4 separate regions of the Homo sapiens genome follow, and regions 1, 3 and 4 are each linked to region 2. Evidence: promoter capture Hi-C in human tissues and cell types (Jung and others, 2019). All regions are on one chromosome and are shown on one strand. Each heading gives the region's core, a stretch centred on a gene start or on the middle of the fragment in contact. The rest is flanking DNA. Distances are from core to core; before and after follow the strand shown.

What was found. The method cuts DNA at HindIII sites, captures the fragments that hold promoters and counts their contacts. A contact is called where the count stands out against the background at its distance.
Region 1: a contact is called between a fragment that was not itself captured here and the fragment with the promoter of SMOC2 in region 2, in 2 of the 25 tissues and cell types used here (bladder and stomach).
Region 3: a contact is called between a fragment that was not itself captured here and the fragment with the promoter of SMOC2 in region 2, in 2 of the 25 tissues and cell types used here (pancreas and stomach).
Region 4: a contact is called between a fragment that was not itself captured here and the fragment with the promoter of SMOC2 in region 2, in 5 of the 25 tissues and cell types used here (H1 embryonic stem cells, aorta, bladder and 2 more).

The regions. Positions count from the first base shown.
Region 1 is chr6:168,400,807-168,405,736 of GRCh38, reverse strand. No RefSeq gene overlaps it. Among named protein-coding and RNA genes, the nearest start is that of SMOC2, 38 kb to the left of the region's middle. The HindIII fragment of the contact is 5,480 bases long and covers 714-4,930 here.
Region 2 is chr6:168,439,858-168,445,229 of GRCh38, reverse strand. It overlaps SMOC2 (SPARC related modular calcium binding 2), which reads right to left and starts at 4,046. Exons shown (of 13, transcript NM_001166412.2): 1 at 3,776-4,046. The coding sequence starts at 3,859. The HindIII fragment of the contact is 15,076 bases long and covers 1-5,372 here.
Region 3 is chr6:168,491,445-168,496,805 of GRCh38, reverse strand. All of the region lies in intron 1 of SMOC2 (SPARC related modular calcium binding 2), which reads right to left. Among named protein-coding and RNA genes, the nearest start is that of SMOC2, 53 kb to the right of the region's middle. The HindIII fragment of the contact is 4,906 bases long and covers 685-5,361 here.
Region 4 is chr6:168,382,922-168,388,299 of GRCh38, reverse strand. No RefSeq gene overlaps it. Among named protein-coding and RNA genes, the nearest start is that of SMOC2, 56 kb to the left of the region's middle. RefSeq lists enhancers at 4,260-4,759, 4,760-5,261. The HindIII fragment of the contact is 4,135 bases long and covers 932-5,066 here.

The sequences.
Region 1 (4,930 bases), core at 2,204-4,703, 39 kb after region 2:
GTTTCCACTGTGAGGTCTGGTGTGTAGAGAAGAGATCACAGAAGTGATCATCAGAAGGGATCGTCCTTCAAAAATTCCCCTCACTAACTTATTTCTCAAAGTATTGGTGAAAGGAAAAAAGCAAGTCAGAAGCAACACCACATCCCTGAAGGGATTGCAGAGATTAGTGCCACCATCAAAGGCCTGAAGCATGCAGGCATGGTGATTCCCACCGCACCTCCATTCAACTCTTCTGTTTGGCTTGTGCAGAGACAGACTCTTGGAAAATGATGGTGGATTCTTATAAACTTAACCAGGTAGTGGCTACAGTTGCATCTGCTATACCAGATATGATTTCTCTGTTTAAGCAAACTAACACATTCCCTGGTAGCTGGCATGCAGCTACTGATCTACCAAGAGCCTCTTTCTCCACCTCTGTTCATAGGCAGTCTGCTTTTGGCTGGTAAGACCAGCAGTGACCTTCACTGTCCCACTGAAGGGGTCTGTCCCCTCTCCTGCCCTGTGTCATGGTTTGTTTCCAGGGATCTTGGTCGTCTTTTTCTTCCACATGTTACACTGGCCCATTACATTGACATTGTGCTGGTGGTACCTAGTGAGCCAGAAGTAGCAACCGCCTTACAGTTATTGGTGAGACATTTATGTTTCAATGGTGGAAAATAAATCTGACAAAAATTCAGGGGCCCTCTAAGTCAGTGAGATTTCTAGGGGTCCAGTGGTGTGGGGCCTGTCAAGAGAGCCCTTGTAAGGTGGAGAAAGGCTTGTTGCATCTGGCCCCTCTTACATCCAAGAAAGAGGCACCATGCTTAGCAGGCCTACTTGGATTTTGAAGGCAACACATTCCTTCCTTGAGTGTGCTGTTCCAGCCCATTTACTGAGTGACCTAGAAAACTGCTGGTTTTGAGTGGAGCCCAGAGCAGGAGAAGGCACTGCAACAGGTGCAGCCTGCTGTGTCCGCTGCTCTGCCACTTGGGCCACTTGCTGGAGCAGAGCCAGCAGTGCTTGAGGTGTCAGTGGCAGACAGGGATGCCCTGAGGAGCCTTGGACAGGGCCCTATAGGTGAATCTTAGTGCAGGGCCTTAGGATTTTAGAGCAAAGACTTGTCATCCTCTGTGAATAATTATTCCCCTTTGGAGTACCAGCTCTTGGCCTGCTAGTTGGCCCTAGCAGACTGAATGCTAAGCTATTATTTTTCTTTTTTGAGATGAAGTCTTACTTTGTTGCCCAGGCTGGAATGCAGTGACACGATCTCAGCTCACTGGAACCTCCGCCTCCCGGGTTCAAACAAGTCTCCTGCCTCAGCCTTTTGAGTAACTGGGATTACAGGTGCGTGCCACCACATCTGGCTAATTTTTGTATTTCTAGTAGAGATGGGGTTTTGCCATGTTGACCAGGCTGGTCTCGAACTCCTGACCTCAAGTGATTCATGTGCCTTGGCCTCCCAAAGTGCTGGGATTACAGGCATGAGCCACTGCCCCCGGCCTGAATGCTAAGCTGTTGACCCACCATGTTGCTATGTGATCTGAGCTGCCCTTCATGAACTGGAGGGATTGCAGAGATTAGTGCCACCATCGAAGGCTTGGAGGCAAGGGTAGCAATTCCCACCACATCTCCATTCAACTCTTCTGTTTGGCTTGTGCAGAAGACAGGCTCTTGGAAAATGACAGTGGATTATTATAAGCTTATGATACCTTTTGTTGTGAAGTGAGTCCCTTGATAAGAAGCAATGCTGCATGAATACCATGATGGCAGATAAGGCATTCTGTAAAGACATGGGTGATAGTTTTGGCAGAAACATTGCATTCGGGGACAGAAAATTCATATCTAGAGTATCTGACCCGCCAAGCCGTAAAGTTGAGCATGCACAGTGACACTCCATCCTCAAATGGAAGGGGGCGTGCATGGGATCGGGCACCAGTAGGTCCTGAGGGCACAAGTAAGTTATATAAAGAAGTGGTGCAAATGCCCACAGTCTCCACCCCTGCTCCCCTGCCTTCTGTCTCAGCCTGCACCTGTGTCCCCACTGAGAGTTCCCTGTGATCATTTGACAGAGAAAGCAAGGCTAGAGCCTGGCTTCCAGATGGTTCTGCACTACACAGAGGCATCACCCACAAGTCGACAGCAGCACTGCAGCCCCTTTCGGGGACGTCCCTGAAGCACATGGTGAAGGGAAACCTGCCTGGTCAGCAGAACTCCAGGCAGTGCATCTGGTTGTGCACTTTGCCTAGAAGGAGAAATTCTAGATGTATGCTTACATATCCGTGTATGGGCTGTAGCCAATGGTGTGGCTGGATGGTCAGGAACTTGGAAGGAACATGATTAGAAAATTGGGAACAAGAGAATTTAGGGGAAAGATATGTGCATAAACCTCTCTTAGTGGGCAAAAAAATAACCATGAAGACATTTGCATCACATGTGAACACTCACCAAAGGGTGACCTCAGCAGAGTAGGAGTTTAGTAATCAAGTGGCTAGGATGACCGTCGTGTGGATACCACTCAGCCTCTTTCCCCAGTCCCCACTGTCATTATTTATTGGGCTCAGGAACCAAGTGGCCTTGATGGCAGGGATGGAGGATATGCATGGGCTCAGTGACACGGACTTTTGCTCACTGCAACAGCCATTGCGTGGCCAATCTGCTAGCAGCAGAGAGCAACACTGAGCCCCCAATGTGGCACCACTCCCAGGGTGATCAGTCAGCTACTTGGGGTGGGATTACATTGGATCGATTCCATCATGGAAGGGGCAGTATTTTGTCTTTATTTGAATAGATACTCTAGGTTTGCATCTTCCTTCCCTGAATGCAACACTTCTGCCAAACCTACCATCCATGAGCTTACAGAATACAGCATTGCTTCTGATCAAGGAACTCACTTCACAACAAAAGAAGTATAACGATGGGCCCATGCTCCTGGAATTCAGGGTCTTACTGTGTTCTCTACCATCCTGAGGCAGCTGGCTTGATGGAACCACGGAATGGCTTTAGAAGATGCAGTTACAGCATCAGCTAGGTGGCAGTACCCTGTGGGCTGGGGCAGGGTTCTCCAGAAGGCTGTGTGTGTTCTGAATCTGTGTCCAATAATGGCACCCTTTCTCCTAGAGCCATAATCATGCTCCAGGAATCAAGAGGTGGAAATAGGAGTGGCACTCCCTATCACCCCTAGTGACCCATTGACAACATTTTTGCTTCCAACTTTATGCTCTGCTAACCTAGAGGTCCTAGTTACAAAGAATACAAAGAAAGGCATGTTTCCACCAGGAGACACAGCACTAATCCCACTGGACTGGAAGTTAAGACAAAGAATGCAAAGAAAGGCATGCTTCCACCGGCAGACACAGCACTGATTCCATTGAACTGGAAGTTAAGACCAATGCTCTGCAACTTCGGGCTCCTTCTGCTTCTGAATCCATATGCAAAGAAGAGAGTCCCTGTGCAGCTGGGGTGATGGATCCTGGCTTCTAAGAAGAAATTGGCCTATACTACTCCACAGTGGAGGTAAGCAAGAGTGTGTCTGGAATACAGGAGATTTCTGAGGCTGTATCTTAGTATTACCCTGCCCTGTGATTAAGGTCAGTGGAAAACTCAACCTAATCCAGGTAGGACTACAAATGGCCCAGAACCTTCAAGAATGAAGATAGTCTATAGGTAAAGAACCATGAGCAGCTGAGGTGCTTGCTAACAGCAAAGGGAACACAGAGTGGGTAGTAGAAGAAAGTCATTGTAAATACCAGCTATAACCATGGGATCAGTTACCAGTGACGTGTTGTAAATACCAGCTATGACCATGGGACCAGTTACAGGAAAAAGGGCTGTACTCCTCATGAGGATTTTATCCTTATTTTGTTATGAGTGTGAGTGTGTGTGTATGTGAATGTGTGTGAGAGTGTGTTTGAGAGTGTGTGTGTGGTGTGTGTGTATGAATGGCCCAGTCAAGTAGATGCATAAAATTATCCACAAGTCCAACTCTTGTCAACTTGGCACCCATACACATCTCCTGAAATCATACTTAATCTCAAAATAAAGACAATAATAAGGTCATAATTTTTCCTTATGACCTTAATAAGATTAATTTATATATATGTGTATATATATATGTTTTCTCTTCTCTCATTACCTTATGTAACAGATGATGAATTGACTTTATATCATAGTATTAAGTATTGTTCATTTTACATTATACTATTTAAATCATGGGATATCAAATAGAAGCAAAAACATCATCCAAGGACTTTGCTTTCTTTTGCGGGAAGGAGCTAGTGCATTTTTGGTTGTACTCAGGACAGTTATATCATGATAGGCAGAATTATGACCTTATGATTATCTTCATTTTGAGATTAAGTATGCTTTGAGGAGATGTGTACGGGTGCCACGTTGACAAGAAGTGGATTGTTGTGGCTAATTTTACATTAACTTGACTGGGCCATGGGGTGCCCAGACATTTCATTGAGTGTTATTTCCAGATGTGTCTCTGAGGGTGTTTTGGATGAGATGAACATTTGAATGGTGGACTGAACTCACCGATTGCCCTCCCCAATGTGAGTGGGCCTCACTCAAGCAGTTGGTAGTCTGAACATAACAAAAAAGCCAAAGAATAGGGACCTCCTCCTGCCTCTCTGTGGAGCTGGGACAGTGGTCTTTTCCTGCCCTTGGTCTGAAATGGAAACACCAGCTCTACTGGGGCCTCAAGCCTGCTACCTTCAGACTGGAACTGAAGCCTGGGATCTCCTGGGTCTCCAGCGTAACAGCTGCAGATCATGGGACTTCTCAGCCTCTATAATCACATGAGCTAATTTTTTGTAACAGATATCTCTCCATCTATCTCTATCTCTATCTATTTATCATCTATCTATGCATCCATCCTATTGGTTTTATTTCTCTGGAGAACTCTGCCTAATTCAATCAGCAAGGAAGTGGAAGAAGACAGGACAACAAG
Region 2 (5,372 bases), core at 2,797-5,296:
AGTTCCTGAAGACAGTGCAAAAAACAGTGCAGGGAACTCCCACGAAGAAAGAAAAATAATGGCAGGATGACTTGAGAAATATTCGGATCTGCTTAGTGACCAGGTGCCCTTCAGAGTCTCTCAAAACTTCAGTTTCCTCATCTCTTGAATGTGGAGACAACGGTACCTTTAACGAAGTCGTGCGTATGACCTTAGGGGAGCGTTAGGTATTGGCAGTAAGAGAAGTCTGAGAAGGATGGTAATGTGACTTCAACATTCTAAGTGTGAGCAAAATATGATTTAGTCAACATGGGAATGAATACTTTGGCTCTAACCAAAAACTTCTGGGAAAGGGGTCCCAGGCAATATTGTTCTTCTCTCTGCCTTTAAAGAAATCACCTAGGTATGGGCTTATGGATCAGTCCATCAAAATTCATATAATGACAACCATGATAAAGTTGAGTAATTGTGATCACGCCTGTTTGCTCTTTGAAAACAGAATTATGTGTAATAAAAACCATTTATACTAGAGATCATTCCCTCATCTCAGTCATTCACAGAAATAAAAAGGAAAATGGGCACGGTGTGGCATTCAATGTACCTCCTTCTTCAAGGAAGAAATTGACCTGCATCCAAATTAAGAGCGCATTGGACACACTTAAGAATGCCATTGTTGACTGGAGGTGAGAGGGTCTGAGCAATAACCAGGAAGTTGTGCAAAGCCATCAGAAAGTCACAATGAGAGACACAGAGGGCCTCATGGTGCCATTTCTAAAGAATGACTTTGGTGGAAAGAAGAGAGATCATTACCAGACAAAGTGGATTCTCTGAATCTTAAACATAAAGTAGCAGAGGTGAGCACACCAGCAATGCTGGACCCACCAAGAAAGCACACTCACCATAGGTGAGTAAGACAAATGCGTGGTCCTGAGAAGCCAGGTATGGCAAACTGAAAGCCCCAGAGAGGCTGACATATTTCCCTGCTTCTAGATGAGAAGAAATGAATGGAGTAGAAGGAGGCAGAGAGGCAAGCTTTCCTCCTTGGTCTATAGAGTCCCACATGGCTACTCCCACAAAGTCCACAGATACACCCAGAGCCAAGTGGTGTGCTCTGAGAATCTGCGGCAGGTGAAAATACTGCAAAGTTGAATCCACACACACCTTAATGCCACAACGCTATATGCATTGATAATTACGGTATCAATTGATAGCACTCTCTTATACGGACCCACGGCATGGGCACCATCAAAACAATGTTAGCTGGAGAACTCACATATAGTAGGCGCATTAAAAGCCCTACCTTTAATCCTCACCACATGCTTGAAAGAGATTATGTATTCTCATTTTACAGATAAGGGGACTGAAGATTATGAAATTAAGTAACTTGCCTGAAGTCACACATCCAGCAAGACCCTAAGCTGTGGGTCCCACCCACTGCATGGACTGATACTGCCTCTTGATTTATTAAAGTAGGTAGGATGCAAATCGTAGGGAGAGAAGGCCCTTCTTTGAATGAGGGCCTCCGGAGACAAAAGAGATTTCCAAAAACCAGAAGGCAATTTGAAAAGAGATGAGCACACTGAAAAATCCTGCACATCTCACATCTCCCAGCGACCAGTCAGATTTCAGGCCTGCCTCAGTTACTTTGTAACTCAACTACTTCTTGATTTTCTAGACTGGGGGTGGGGTGAGAAGAAGTGTGCCAAAATGTGTTATGGCTTTAATCTTTTCTTCGGGATACTGATTTTATTTGCAAATGTAAATTTCAGGCAAACTGTTCTTGGGGAATGCAGCCAACAGGGCAAAGCCCACGTGGGGTATCAGCTCCTGCACAGAGACCCCACATGCAGCGGGTCTCACCGCAACCCAAGACATCCTTGGGGCAACCTCAAGGGGGCAAAAGGTGAGAGGGTTCAAGTAAATAGTTAGATGAGACAGGGGAGAGAAGACAAGAAAACCTGCCGAGTCTTAAACTGTTCTAATTACTAACTACCTTGATTCTGCTCTTCCAGGGGGGACCAACAGGCCCAACCCCACCCCCCACACACACAGGGCAGCAGGCAGATGGCAGTCTCTACTTTTTGCGCTTTCAGAAAATCTGAAAATCCGTGGCAACTGTAGGTACCTGCTGCTACAGTCCTGGAAGAAAATGCTATGATCTCCTTTGGAGAATTGGCCTTAGTTTCTCTGTCTCCTCTAGTGTGCTTTAAGAGTATGTGGGGGGTCTTTTTGTGAGTGTATACGTGAGTATATTTATGTCTAGATGCATGTACAGATGTGCATATACATGAATGCCTCCAGTGAGTATCCTCTGAGGGCCCCCTCTGGGGAGATAAAGGATCTTCAGGGAAAGCCTGAGTGTGTGAAAACCTCCTTGGAGCCCCAGTTAGCAGTTTCTAATCTACAAGTCATTTGTGAGACACAAGGCAGGGACCCCGGGCTGCTGCAGAAGAATTTGAGGTATGAGCAATGAACTCACAAACCATCCTTCACACTGCTAAAACGCAAAAGAAAGAAGACGAAGAAAAAGAAAAAGAAAAAGAAAAGATGCCCACATGACTGTTTTAAATTTGCTGAAAGGCAGAACCGACCACAGCTTATTTCAACCATCTTTATTTTCAATACAATAAACACCTTTAGGACAAGTCCCCGGCCACTTAAAAAAGACGGCTGTCCACCAGAGGCGTTCTCACTACCTTCGTGTTTTCTCAAACACTTGTTCAAAAACACATTTAAGTGGAATGTTTTCGTTTCTGGCGATTGCATTAATGATGGGTTTGCAAACCCTGCAAGCCCAGGAGGACGGCTGGAGCTGGGGGCTGCAGACACCCGGCCTTGGCCCAGCGGCCGCCGCGGGTTGGCTTGGCCGGCGGGGGCTTGGCTCAGCCCCCTCTACATAGCTCCTCGTTTGACACCGCGTGCGTTGGCCGGGCCAAGGCTGTCGCATAGAAGTTACAGCTCAGAAAGAAAAACACACAGCGGTCAACCGCGGTGACCCTCGCGCTCAGGAGCGCAGCATCCCTGCCACGAGGAAGAACCCAGAGGCCCCGCAGAGCGGGGAGCCGCCGCCTGCCTCCAGTTCTGTCCTGAGAAGGGAAGAAAGCGCTTCTCTAATAACACTCAGGCCCGTGAAGAATCATCTGTAACCTCATCTGCTTCTTCCTCGGCTCACTTACGAGGGTCTCTGGGAGAGTCAGACCCACGAGTGGGGCCCACGACTGGCAGCCCCTTCAGCCGGCGAGAGGCCCGGGATCCGCGCGGCGCACGAGCCCAAAGCGGTCGGGAGAACACGCTCCAGGCCGGGTCCCCGTGGGCGAGGTGGGCGCCCAGTCCCGGCGGGTCTGTCTTGGCCTTGGGACAGTCCGCGGGGCGGCGCCGGCGCTCCCAGACCTGGTTCCCCACAGGCTCAGGCCCAGCAGTGAGTGCGGGACACCCGAGCGCACCCGCAGCTCCCACTTGTCCGGGGTCTGCAGGACCCCAGGATCCTCTCACAGCCGGGTCAGAGCCCCCGAGGCAGGTGGGGTCCCAGCCGGGTGGAACCCGAGGAGCCCGTCGCAGCCGCAGCAGGACCCCGGCGGGCAGGGTCCCCAGAAGCCCATCCCAGCCGGGTCCCAGGCGCGCACGCTGCGTCCTACCTGCTCCAGCCTCGCCGGCAGGCGAAGGCTCCACGGCCCCCGGGGCCACCTGCTCCCCGTGCCCAGGCGCCTGGGCCTGGAGCGGGGCGCGGGGACCCGAACCCGGCCGGCTGCAAGAGGCGGCACCACTTGAGCTCCAGGTCCCGCGGGCCCGGGCTTACCGTGAGCGCCGAGAACTTCTGAGCGGGCACCGGCGGGAGCAGCCCAGCGAGCAGCGGCAGCCAGCAGAGCTGGGGGAGCAGCATGGTGGCGGAGGTGGCGGGAGCGGGAGATCGGCCGCGTCCTGCGCCCTGGCACTGCAGCCGGGAGAGCCCAGTGGGCGAGCGCGGCTGGGCGGGCGCGTGGAGGGGCGGCTCCGCGATGCTCTCCCCACCGCTCCCGGCGGCCCGGCTGGAGCAGCTCCCCTGCAGGCACCCAGAGGTCCTCCGCGTTCTTTGCGTCCGCCCTCGCTCCTGTCAAATACCCCGGAGCTTCCCGGATCCTCCCCTCCCGCCCGCCTCTCTCCCTCCCCCTCTCCTCCCCCAGCCCCACCTCCCAGCGCCCGCTGCCGCGCCCGCTCCGCTCCGGTGCCCGCTGCGGCCCAGAGGCCTCCCTGGCGCGGGTCTGCGGAGCGAGAGGTGGAGCGGGGGCCACCAGGGCTGCGCAGTGGCCTGTCCGGGCTGTCTCTGTGCCTCCTTCCCCGCGCGCACTCTCACACACACACGTGCACACTTACACACACGCACACCCAGGCACACGCACGCACTCATACCCACGCGCGCGCACCCTCGGGGGGCTTCCAAGCACAACCACGGGACGCACCGCGCCCTCCTCACGCCCCAGGGTCCAGGCCCGGTCCGCGCAGGATCAGCCCAGCGGGACTTTTCATCCACAAAGGTTAACGCCAAGCCTTGGCCGGTCCCCAGACTCCGGGGTTCTCCTTGACCTCTGCCCTCTAAGGCCCCCTGGTCCAGCCCAGAACATTGCCTCTCAGAGGTGCTGAAGGATCAGCGGCGCTCCAGCAAAGGCAGCTGGGAACACATGTCCAGGAAAGGCTGCGCCGGGGGCAGCCCGCCTTTGGCATCTTTACACGGGGTTATCCACTGCAGGGATGGGGGAATTTAGGTCCTAAAGATCCGGGGTCTGACCTGGGCTGTAGCCTTGATCCTCTCAAGTCGGGGGAGCATGTGGTTGGGCATCATTCACAGACACATGTGGCTGTTTTTAAACAGCTCTGTCAAAGCATTTCAGGTGTTTGTGCGGGGAGCACAGGGCTTGTGGAGGTTGTAAACTCACCCACGAAGACTACGTTGGAAACCAGGAAATTTTTGCACACCCAGACTCTGGATAATATCCACTGCAGACAACATTGCTGACATAGTTTAGCCTTGGCTTATAACTTTACAGGAAAAAGCCCTAATTCTGTCTCACACAGAAAGCCAGAAGAGTGAAGATTTGTTCAAGAACAATGAATCAATTGACTTGTCAGGGGCATTGGGAAAAGCACAAAACACAGAAAATCCAAATCTGAGGTTTCATCCGATGTCTAGCCCACTGCTTTGGCTATGAACTTTGGGGGAGGGGGCTGTATCAGCAAGTTCTGGGACTGGCTGCTGAGGCAAAGGCAATGCTATTGCAACCTTTCCCACACAATTTTATCAGGAAAGTGATGTCCGTCGGGCCACGGAAAGACGGGAAAGAAATGCACCTTTTCCTGAAGGAGGGCTACTCTCAGAATTCTCCTTAAAATTCCAAAGCCCAGGGAATCTATTAAGCACT
Region 3 (5,361 bases), core at 1,888-4,387, 52 kb before region 2:
ATGGAACAACTGAAAAGCCATCACACCCCACTCAGAAGGGTCCCCACGCTGAGGTGCACAGTGCAATCTTGGAGATGGGCAGGGAAGGGCTCGGGAGGCCCCAGGGTGGGGGCCCTCACCGCTGCCTCCTGCAGTCCTTCACCTGACACCTCTCAGGCCGCAGCCCCGTCCAGGTGCCGGCCAAGGAAGAAACCTCTCAGAAGAAAGGACCTCTCGGGACAGAACTCGAGGGCTGGGGCGACAGGCGATTGGTCCCGTCTGCAACTCCACCATCACCCCCGAGCATGGGTAGGCTTCCCCCAGGCTTGGACAGTCCAACACACAAACCATTAGCCACATGAATCTATTCACGTTTAAATTAACTAAAATGAAGTAAAATCTGAAGACAGTCGCTCATTTGCTATGTGTTGAGTCCTCATGGCCTCCTGTGCTAGTGGCTGCTGTCTGGGACAAGGCAGCTCATAAATCATTTCCATCACTGCAGACAGCTCTTCCAGACAGTGTTATCTAGAAACAGGGATTGCAGGGCAAGCACTCCCCACCCTGCCTTCCCAAACCCCAGTGTTTTCCACAAAATGCCCAAGAAACAAACAGTTGCAACAAGATGAGTACCGAAAAGCTTCCAGGCTCTGTGACCAATCGAACAAATCCTAAATGCCAAGCAGAGTAACTTAAGAACAGTGTCTTGAAATTCACACTTTTAATTACAGAGAGAATAGAAACACCTTAATTACAGGAGGATGAGAAGCTTGGAGACTTTTGTGGAGGGAGTACAGAGGATTTTGAGGGACTTCAAAGGTATTTTAGACATTAAAAGAAAAGAGCGAGGAGGCGAGAGGAAATGCATGCAGGGCACCCATAGGCTTTGAGGCCTGAGCTCCCAGCTCGGCCCGGCCCTGACCGCTCATCGGTGAGGAGGCCAAGGAGGGCAGGGCGGGCCGTGTGGGTGGGTGAACCGTGCAGGTGGGTGAAGCCACCATGGGGAACTGCACAGGTGGGTGGAGCCCCCAGGTGAACCCTGCAGGTGGGTGAGGCTGCCAGGGAACCGCGCAGGTGAGTGAAGCCATGAGCTAGCAGAGCCCTGTGACCCGGGTCACGCCTGTGTCCTGTGGCCAAAGGGGGCAGGCAGTGTGGGAGTGGCAGACGCAGGCCTGAGGTGTTTGCGAAGCGCTGCTCCCCAGGAGGAGTCACCTGGGCTTTCTTTAAAGTTTCACCAAACGCTTCCCGGGCATTGCGAACTTCAGGGCTGCCACCACAGCAAACACACACTCATTTATCGTTCGGGAGGTGCTCACAGCATCCCACATCTACGATCTGTACTTTATAGAAAAATTAAATGTGACAAAGAGATAGAATTAAAAACTCAGGTTCCCAAGGAAAATGTTGGAGCTCTGGAAGCGACCCCAGCGGTGGGCACCGGGAGCCGCGGACAAGGTCACCCTGGCTGGCGTCAGCCAGTGGCTGAGAGAGGAAGTGAAGAAGATCCACCTGCCACGGTGGGCTTTCCACAGGGCCTCAGTTAGAGGGGGGTGGACCCGCAGAGGGACCTACACCTGGGCCACAAGGAGCCTTTCCCTTGGCCGGAGGTCCCTCCTTTGTGACTCACTCAGAGCAAGACAAAGCCTGGTCTGCAGGAGCCCACATAGGGCGCAGGAGCATGGCTTTCCTGGAACCACTCTGAGCCAGGAGGTGTCTGTGTCCTGAGCCCACCCTGTTTTGCTCTTACCTTAGACCCTCTGAGAAGGGTCATGGTGTGAGCAGGTTCCCTGCGGGTTTCAGGAAGGTGCCAGAGGCGGGGCCTGGAGGATGCAGGCATGAGGGAAGGGGCAAGGCCGAGCGAGGTGAGCACACCCCGGCCCAAGGGAGGTTCCCTATTCCCCAGGAACTGCAGGCAGAGGGAGGCCTCAGCCAGGATGGTCCATCCCAGCCCTCCCAGGCCCAGTGCACTTAGACAAGGCTGTGATTCCATCCCAGCAGCTGGGAGCGAAGTGGTGCCCGCCCTTCCCAGCCACCTCCCTTGCCCTTCAGCTGCTGGGATGGGGCTGCTCCAGCCGAGGGTTCACTCTCACTCCCAGCCCTTTGGGAAAGAATCGCAAAACCCCAGTATGAGGAGAGGTGCATTTCTCCATTCACGTCTCCTCCAAGTCTTAGGCTTACCAGGAAATCAGTGGCACTCTAAGCAGCGTAAGTCAAAGGGCACTGCCCACTCATTTTCAACGTGCTTAGGAAGTGATCCCCTATCTTGTTGGCTGTGAAAATGCATAGAAGAAAATGTTTGCTGTGTGTGTTCATTTATCCAAAAAGATTCTGATGGGCACTTTAGCCCTAGTAAAGTGTTTCGGCTAAAGCCAAGAAGAAGTCTATCTAGGTGTTAAATTCAGAAAAAGAGGAGAAGGAAGAAGAGAGGCAAAGTATTCACTCTTTTCATGTATTTACTGGTTGGGTGCGCATTAGGTGCGTGTCTGCTGAAACCTAAGGAGACCAGCTTATCACATGCCTGCCCTACCACTGAACTACCTGAGCCCAGACCAAAACTTTGCCATGTCCTAAAGAACGCTTGCACTCACAGTGTGTAGAAGGAAAGCTGCTCTTAGCTTTGCCATGTCATGAAGAATGCTTGCACTCAGAGCGTGTAGAAGGAAAACTGCTCTTAGTAACATCTGGAATAACCATCTAATACACTTGCCAAGATTCAGACCAATATGCCTGGAATAATGTCAAACCAAGAAAACAATGAGGTTTATGATGGAAACAGAGAAAAGACTTCAGGATCGTTCCAATGGCATCGGAATGATCCCACACTCATAATATTTTAAGGTTACCAAATGCACTTATGAAAGGTGGCTACCACATAGAATCTAATTTTGTTTTTTGAAGAACAACTCCTCTGGAAGTTATTCTTGGCAGACACTGAATAGCAAGAACCAATTAAAATAGAAAAGATAAAGACAGTTAAAAACTAATATGTCTGATGAAATAAATATTCAGATGAAATTTATTTTCTTGGCTGTCATTTAACTAAGAAAAGAAAAACTAGGACTTATACACTTTTTTGAAAAATAAAATCATGTCCGCAATGTCAACTTGTTTGTCAAAAGCTAATTTTAACTACCTAGGATTTAATATCCCTAAAATGTTGATATTAATATATCAAATTAATATAATTTTAAGTTGCAATACTATTAGACAGCCAGATCTTATCACAGTGGTTTCCATTCTGAAGATATCTTGGCCTTTGTACTTTGAACATCATTTTCTGAACAGTAACAGTTTTCCTTCGCTTCTGGAAACTTGTCACTTACTTTGCCATCCATACATCATTCACAAAACATTTGCCTTCATCATCATGCAAAGCTACAGAAGATCTTGTACAAAGTAAGATTATGAAGGGAAAGGAATTAAGTTTTTAACAAATCCATACTTATGCAGATAAATGTTCAAGTCAGTTCTTTAACTAAATCACTTTTGAGGCCAGGTGTGGTGGCTCACACCTGTAATCCCAGCACTTTGGGAGGCCGAGGCAGGTGGATCTCCTGAGATCAGGAGTTCGAGACCAGCCTGACCAATATGGTGGAACCTCGTCTCTACTAAAAGTACAAAAATTAGGCAGGCGTAGTGGCGTGTACCTGTAGTCCCAGCTACTCAGGATACTAAGACAGGAGAATTGCCTGAACCCAGGAGGCAGAGGATGCAGTGAGCTGAGATCCTGCCACTGCACTCCAGCATGGATGACAGAGTAAGACTCTGTCTCAAAAAAAAAAAATCACTTTTGAGCATATCTAAACATTCCAACAATTTAGTCTTCATTCAAATTTGTGAACTCTTCCTTTGAAGCTACCTTCACAATGTATGGAGAGCTCAAGGAAAGTCAGCCTTACGACGTCATGCAGTGATGCTGAAACAGATTCCATTCGATCCTAACAAACCTACAACACAAGGAAGAGAAGGCACATTTCTGTACTCTATAGATGGCAATATTAAAGCCAGAGAAATGCAATGTCTTGCTCAGAGTGACAAATTATTTTGTGGTGGTGGGAGAGCGTCAGGACAGGTATGTGCCTCTGGTCACCATCCACATTTTGTCCTGTGAGACAGTGCTCTCTCTAAAATGTCATCAACCTCGTAGGTCACGTCATCTTGAGACTGAAAGAAAAGTTGATTTAGAGAAACCTACCTCACACTGCAATACTTTTTATTTAATCATGTGGTAATAACTATGAAATTCGTAACAGATGCTTGTGTGTATATTTTCTGCCACACTTTTTCACCCTTATCACTGGACTGAGTTGTTGGTTTTGAGTGACACCTGTAAGAGTGACTTTGTGAAGTTGAGATTGGTCAGATTTGATCAACCCATTGTTGTGCGAATTTGCCCCTTGGCCTAGGGCTAGCAGGCTGAGAGGTGGTAGAGCTTCCTTTATGTTTGCATAGTTCTTGCTTTGAAAATAGAAGGTGAACTGAAAACTATGGAAAGGTAGGTGGGTGTCTTGTGGATTAAAAATGAGCATCATGCATGTGTGTGTGTGCCTCGTATCTTGGAGAGGATGGGGCCAGCCAACGGTATTCTCATGTGCTTGGCAAATTGAAACTTCCATTTTAAATACAACTGACTTTTCTCATTTAGATAGGTAAGTCCTATATTTTTCCTTTCAAGAGAAATATTCCCTTCAGATACAACCTGTAATTTCTCTTCCATGAATAAAAAATTGGGGAGACATTATTTTGTTTAATTAAGTGCATTAGTAATGCCAGATGCAGACCAGTAAGACTGAGCCATGTTCAAAGAAATTCAGAATTAGGAGACTTCCTTCTAAAGTGAGAAAATGAAATGTATCAAAAAGAAGAATGCGGGAGAATGTGTGGGTGGCTCGAAAATGGTTAAAAATAATATTTCGATGTAGTTAGCGATACCTGCACTTATTCCAGAGAGAAGTTAAGATGATGAACAGCACAGTTCACTCTCCATGGGGTTTATCATTTCTGCAGTTAAGGTTCCCGCTTAATTTTAACTTATAATACGGCCAACAAGCAATCTCTTTAAAAATAACAAAATAAAATCACAATTAAGTCAACTCAATGGCTCTTCTGTATCTGTGTCTGACAAGAGTAGACACATTCCCACAGCTCATGCAGATACTTTAAATAGAGTATCAAATTAATGTTTTGGTTTAAATTTTTATTAAATAGTTTATTGTTATTATCAATAATGTTTTTGATCTTTACATACGCACAGGAAGCTCTGGCTGACTGGTGGGAGTTGCCCAGGAGGATCTTACAGCTGAATTGATCCCAAATACTTATTTTAAAAGATGCTCCATGGGTGACATCATCATGAGACCAAGCAGTCTTCACCTTCCAGCC
Region 4 (5,378 bases), core at 1,750-4,249, 56 kb after region 2:
GCTCTGTCTCTGTATGTGATGTGGGTATTTTCTGTATATTACAGTAGCTTAGTTTCTTACTGGCTGTTGAGTTTTTGGTTTGTCGACTCAAAAGTCACTTCCAGGGCACAGTTGACGGAGGCGATGTTGAATGCACAGCCCGAGTGTGTGGTCGGCCGGCTCCCGCTGCAGCAGGCGACCCTCCGTATGGACATCCTGCCTGCGAGGCCAGCAGCTGTCACGAGAACAGAGCGACGATTGACGATGCCGAGCTGAACGACAATGGAGCAAAGCAGCATTTACTTCAGCACAGTAAGTACACAGCCATCATCGAAAACCTAAAGTAGAGGTTTCCAAACTTTTTTTTTTACCCTCAGACTCAGATTTCTTTCTTCAAAAAAAATCTTGCCCAGAAATGCCAACAAACAAAATAGATAAAGCAGGGCTCTCCCTTCTGAGGCAGGCCTGGTGGCCGGAGCTAGGCCACCCTCTCCTCCCTGGGGACCTCCAGGCTTGATGGAGCCCCTTCAGTGGACAAGTGGAACCACAGGCCTGAGAAGCTCTGCTGGGGACAGAGGCTAAACAGAGAGAAGGCCCCAGGCTTGGGCCAGTTCTACACAACGGGCAGCTGAGATGGAGGGACGCCTGCATCCTGCCGGCTTCCTCCACCCAACGGCCCCTGCTGACATGTGTCCCCATCTCCTCACACTGCCCTGGCCGTCCACTGCCCTGCGAGGCCTCTGAGGACAGAAGAGGAAGAGAGCTGCAAGGCTGGCACGGACACAGCCCCATCCCCTGCGGTTCCTTCAGGGCAGGTCCTGCTCTGTGTTCACCAATGGTGGCTGCGCAGTCCCACCCTGGGAACCTCAGTAAACGTCACCCACTGAAGACTCAATGCTCAGGAGGTGGCCAGCCTGCACACAAGACCTCCAGGACCTCCTGCACTGAATTAAAACTCAGGATGGGAAAGGCTCCCCAGCCCTGGAGCCCTGACAGGGGTAAGCCCCCGAGACCCCAGTTCTGCCCAGAACTAGCCCTGAACTTGGATGTGTGCAGGCACTCAAGGCAGGGGTGGACCAGCACATGCCTGCAGGGGCTTTAGTTTAAATGTATATGATGCATATATACGATGAACACACATGTATACACACGTGGTGTATACACATGCGGCATCTGCACACGACGTAAATGCACCTGGCGAGTACACACGTGGCATATACATACATGCCCTGCATATACAACATGGCACATACACGCATGATATACACACACATGATGAGTTAAAACCAGGCAGGAAATTGCCTGAGGTGGCCCAGCTGGAGGAGGCCTTTGAAGCCAAGCACAGGACCCTCCATTAAAGAAGAATGACACCAATGGTCACAGCAGTGCTGGTGCACACAGGAGGAGAGCGGGCTCCATCCCTCACGTCCCCTTGGGTCACAGAAATGCTGGTGAACAGTGGTGGAGAGGGGGCTCCACCCCTCATGTCCCCTTTGCTGCTGTTTGCCTTAATTATGTGTTTGCATCCACAAAACTACTTTTGGATTCTGTGACTCAAAGAAATGCAAAATTAAAAAATAAATCTGCAAAAGTCCACCTGGTTTTCAATCAAACCTGTCTTTCCTTCCACCCTCACCCCTCCTAAAAGAGAAAGGAAAGCTGTTGGGTGAAGTGTGGCTCCCAGTCAGGGACAGGGATCAGCCCAGGTGTGCGGCAAGCCCAGCCAGATGGCTGGAAGCGCTGCCAGGCTGTGGTAGGGACTCACAGGAAGGTGGTGCCCTCAGCCAGCCTCCAAGGGTGTCTCACCAAGGGTTAGGGATCTTCCAGCATCCCCAGGCCAAATGTTAGCAGAAGGTCCCACAACCTCCAGTGCAGTGCCAGGTCTTTTTTATAACCTGAAAGCAAGAATTCAGCTTGTTTCTGCAAGAACGGCTGTAACAGCCCAGCAGCCTCCATGGGACACGTGGGACACACATGCAATGCTGTCCACATTCACATGTGTGTACAAAGCACCATGTTCTCTCACACACTTCAGACCAGGAGGAATGGGTGACTGACAGTTTCCAGTTTAAGGGGCCTGGGGCTATTTGTCCCTGTTGACTTCCAGCTGGGAGGAAAAACTGGCACAAGGAGTGTGTGAGACAAGCCCCACACCTGAGCAGGCACACCTGGGTGGGCACACCTGTGCGGGCACATGCACTGCAGCCCACCTCGGCCAAGGCCTCCAGCTACCAGCAGCTTGGCAGGCAGCTCCCATGGCTTTGCAAGACCTGCAGCTGCAAAGCCAGAGCCAGACCCACCGGCAGACACAGAGGTGCCCTGCTTGCTGGGAGGATGCATCCGAATTATTTCTGTGTGCCAATCCCCAAAGGTCCCTGTCTCTCAGAATGTGAGCAAGACCATGGTCTGGCTTCCCACGGGTGGAGCAGAAGGCTTTCCACATGGTCCTGCCAGGGGCACAGATACTCCATCCCCTTCCCAGATGAAAATGCAGACCTCCTTGGTTTGGCATCAGAGCAAAGGCAGAACTGGCACTTGGGCGATCCACGAACCACGCAGGCCTCTGCTCCTGCCCTTTCTTGTGCATCAGAATTCGGGACAGGACAACTTCACGATATTACATGTGCGCTGGGACACTCAGTTGCTATGTCCACAGGCAAATTCAGTGAGGTTCCTAAATATTCCCCAAGGTGTTGATTCACAGCCGGCCACCTTTCCAAAATTGTTTTCATAGCTCTTCCGCCCACTTTCGTTTGAGATGGAATTATGCCCAGATTCAGCGGGGGCAGCTCCACCAGCCACTTAGCTTTGTTTCCCTCCTCAATGCTTTCAAAGGACGTGTGCAGTCTCCGTAAAGCAGCAAAAAGATTATATTGGGCCTCTCGAAAGAAGGAAAATTTGAAAAAAAATTATCTTCATATGGGTATGTTTATTTCAGATTCAATATATAAACTGATCTTAGTTGCTTCAAATAGACAGCGTCTCATCAAAGCACGTAATAAACATTATTAACCCTGCCTGGCTTTGTGCGCCCGGGAAGAAGCCCCAGGGAGGAAGGAGGGGGCCAAGTCAGGACCGGCCCTGTCCCACCCACACACGAGTGCCGAGGGGGACTTCATGGACCCTCGCCTGAGGCCTCTGTGACTTGAGTATTTCAGGCTGTTTTTCACATAACTTTGGTTTGATTAAAACCCCAAATGCATTTGGCCAACCACATTTCTCTTTAACTTTTTAGCATATATTTATTTTCAGGGAAATGTCAGCCATGCATTTCTGATTCACTCTTTGTTGCCTCCAAGTTGGCCGGTGGTTGGGGGGGCGGGTTCTCGCGGGTGCCTGGGGCTGCCCCAGGAGTCCGTGAGGACAGCGGCAAGCGCGCCCCAAACTCTTGTCTCCTCACATTCCAGAAATGGGCCCCGGAGACCAGATGGATGGTGATGGCACAGAGAGAGCCTGTGCGTGTGCGGGGCGAGGACGTGTTTTAACTCTGAGCAGCGCTGGATTTGTGGTGATGTTGTAACTCCTAACCCATGATTTATGAGTGGTTTTTGACTTAGAAAAGCATGTTCTCTCTGCCCGGACTAACAGAATGCTCAAGCCTGGCGGAGGCACCCCGGAAGGCTCACGCACCCGGCCCCTCTGTCCGGACACCCCCATAGGCCTGACTCCCCTGTGGCCCCGTTTCCCCAGCTCACCAGGTAAGGGCTGTTCACAAAGAAGAAGAAAAATGGCAGAACTTTCATTAATGACGTTCACGTTAGGAGAACTTGCCCTTCACCACACACCCACTGAAACAACAGGGCTTCCTCCTGAGGAAAATGGGAAGCGCCGGGGGGAGTCTCAGGTCCTGGTAGTTGACGGCAAGCTTCAGATCCAGGAGAGATGAGTCTCATTTCCATTTAAAAAATAATTCACTCTTAAAAGCAGGGCACTGCTCAAGACTATATAAAGCTCACACTCTACATTCTTGAACGTACTTCAATAATTGTAAATGTGGGAATGCACAGTCAGTAACTGGGAAACTAAAATGTGAGATTCCAACACATTTACTCAGTGTTGCTGTTGAATTCTCCATGTGTCACGTGGCCTTTGCCGGGAGAAGCCGGCCTTCTGCCCAGGCAGTTTAGGGACAGACTTACTCTTCACTTTTATGTAGAAACCAACAGAGCCCCTTTCAGCTTCCACCAGGTCCTTAGGACAGATGATTCCTCCCCTTACACACAGGTAGTGAAAAAGCAATTCCACCCAGAAAAAAACTACTAACCGAGAATGATCAAATTCCTATCAAGCTTCAGCAGATTCAACACCAGAAGTTGGTCAAAGGAAACTCAAGTCTTTGCCTAAGTATTTCCATAGAAGTTCCATTGTTGACCAAGAGAAGACACGGGCTTCTCACTGAACTTTCCTTTAATGGGTTCCAAATTCTGTAATAGATTTTGACCAAGTTGATTCAATGAAAATGTGCTGACTTTAAAAACTAGTAACTTAAAACTGCCACGCATGCACACACACGCACGCACACACACGCACACACGCACGCACACACATGCATGCACACACACGCACACACACGCATGCACACACACGCACACATGCACGCATGCACACACGCACACACATGCATGCAAACACGCACACACACGCACGCACACACACGCAAACATGCACGCGTGCACACACACGCACACACATGCACACAGACGCACGCACACACACATGCATGCACACACATGCATGCACACACATGCAAACATGCACACATGCACACACACGCATGCAAACACACACATGCACACACACGCATGCAAACACGCACGCATGCACACGCACGCACACATGCATACACAAACACGCATACATGCACACACGCATGCACACATACACATATGCAAACACATGCACATGCATGCACGTGCACACACGCACGCACATGCGCACACACGTGCACACACGCATGCAAATATGCATGCATGCACACTCACGCACACATGTATGCATGCACACACGCACACACATGCAAATACGCATGCACACACATGCACACACATGCAGGCATGCAGACACATGCACGTGCACACATGCACACACACATGCAAACGCACATACATGCACACACGCACATGCACATACAAACACATGCACACACGCACGCACACATGCACACGCACATGCACACACGCAAATATACACACATGCAAATATGCATGGATGCACACACTCACGCACACACGCACACACACACATGCACACACACACAAATGGTCCACACTTTCTCCTTCCTTCTGAAGGCCCGTGCAAAATGTCTCCTCAGCACCAATATTGCAGTGTCTAAACCCCATCTGCTGGGTCACCTCTTGTCCTGGAAGCTGACCAAATATTTGATCAGATCACGGAGAAGT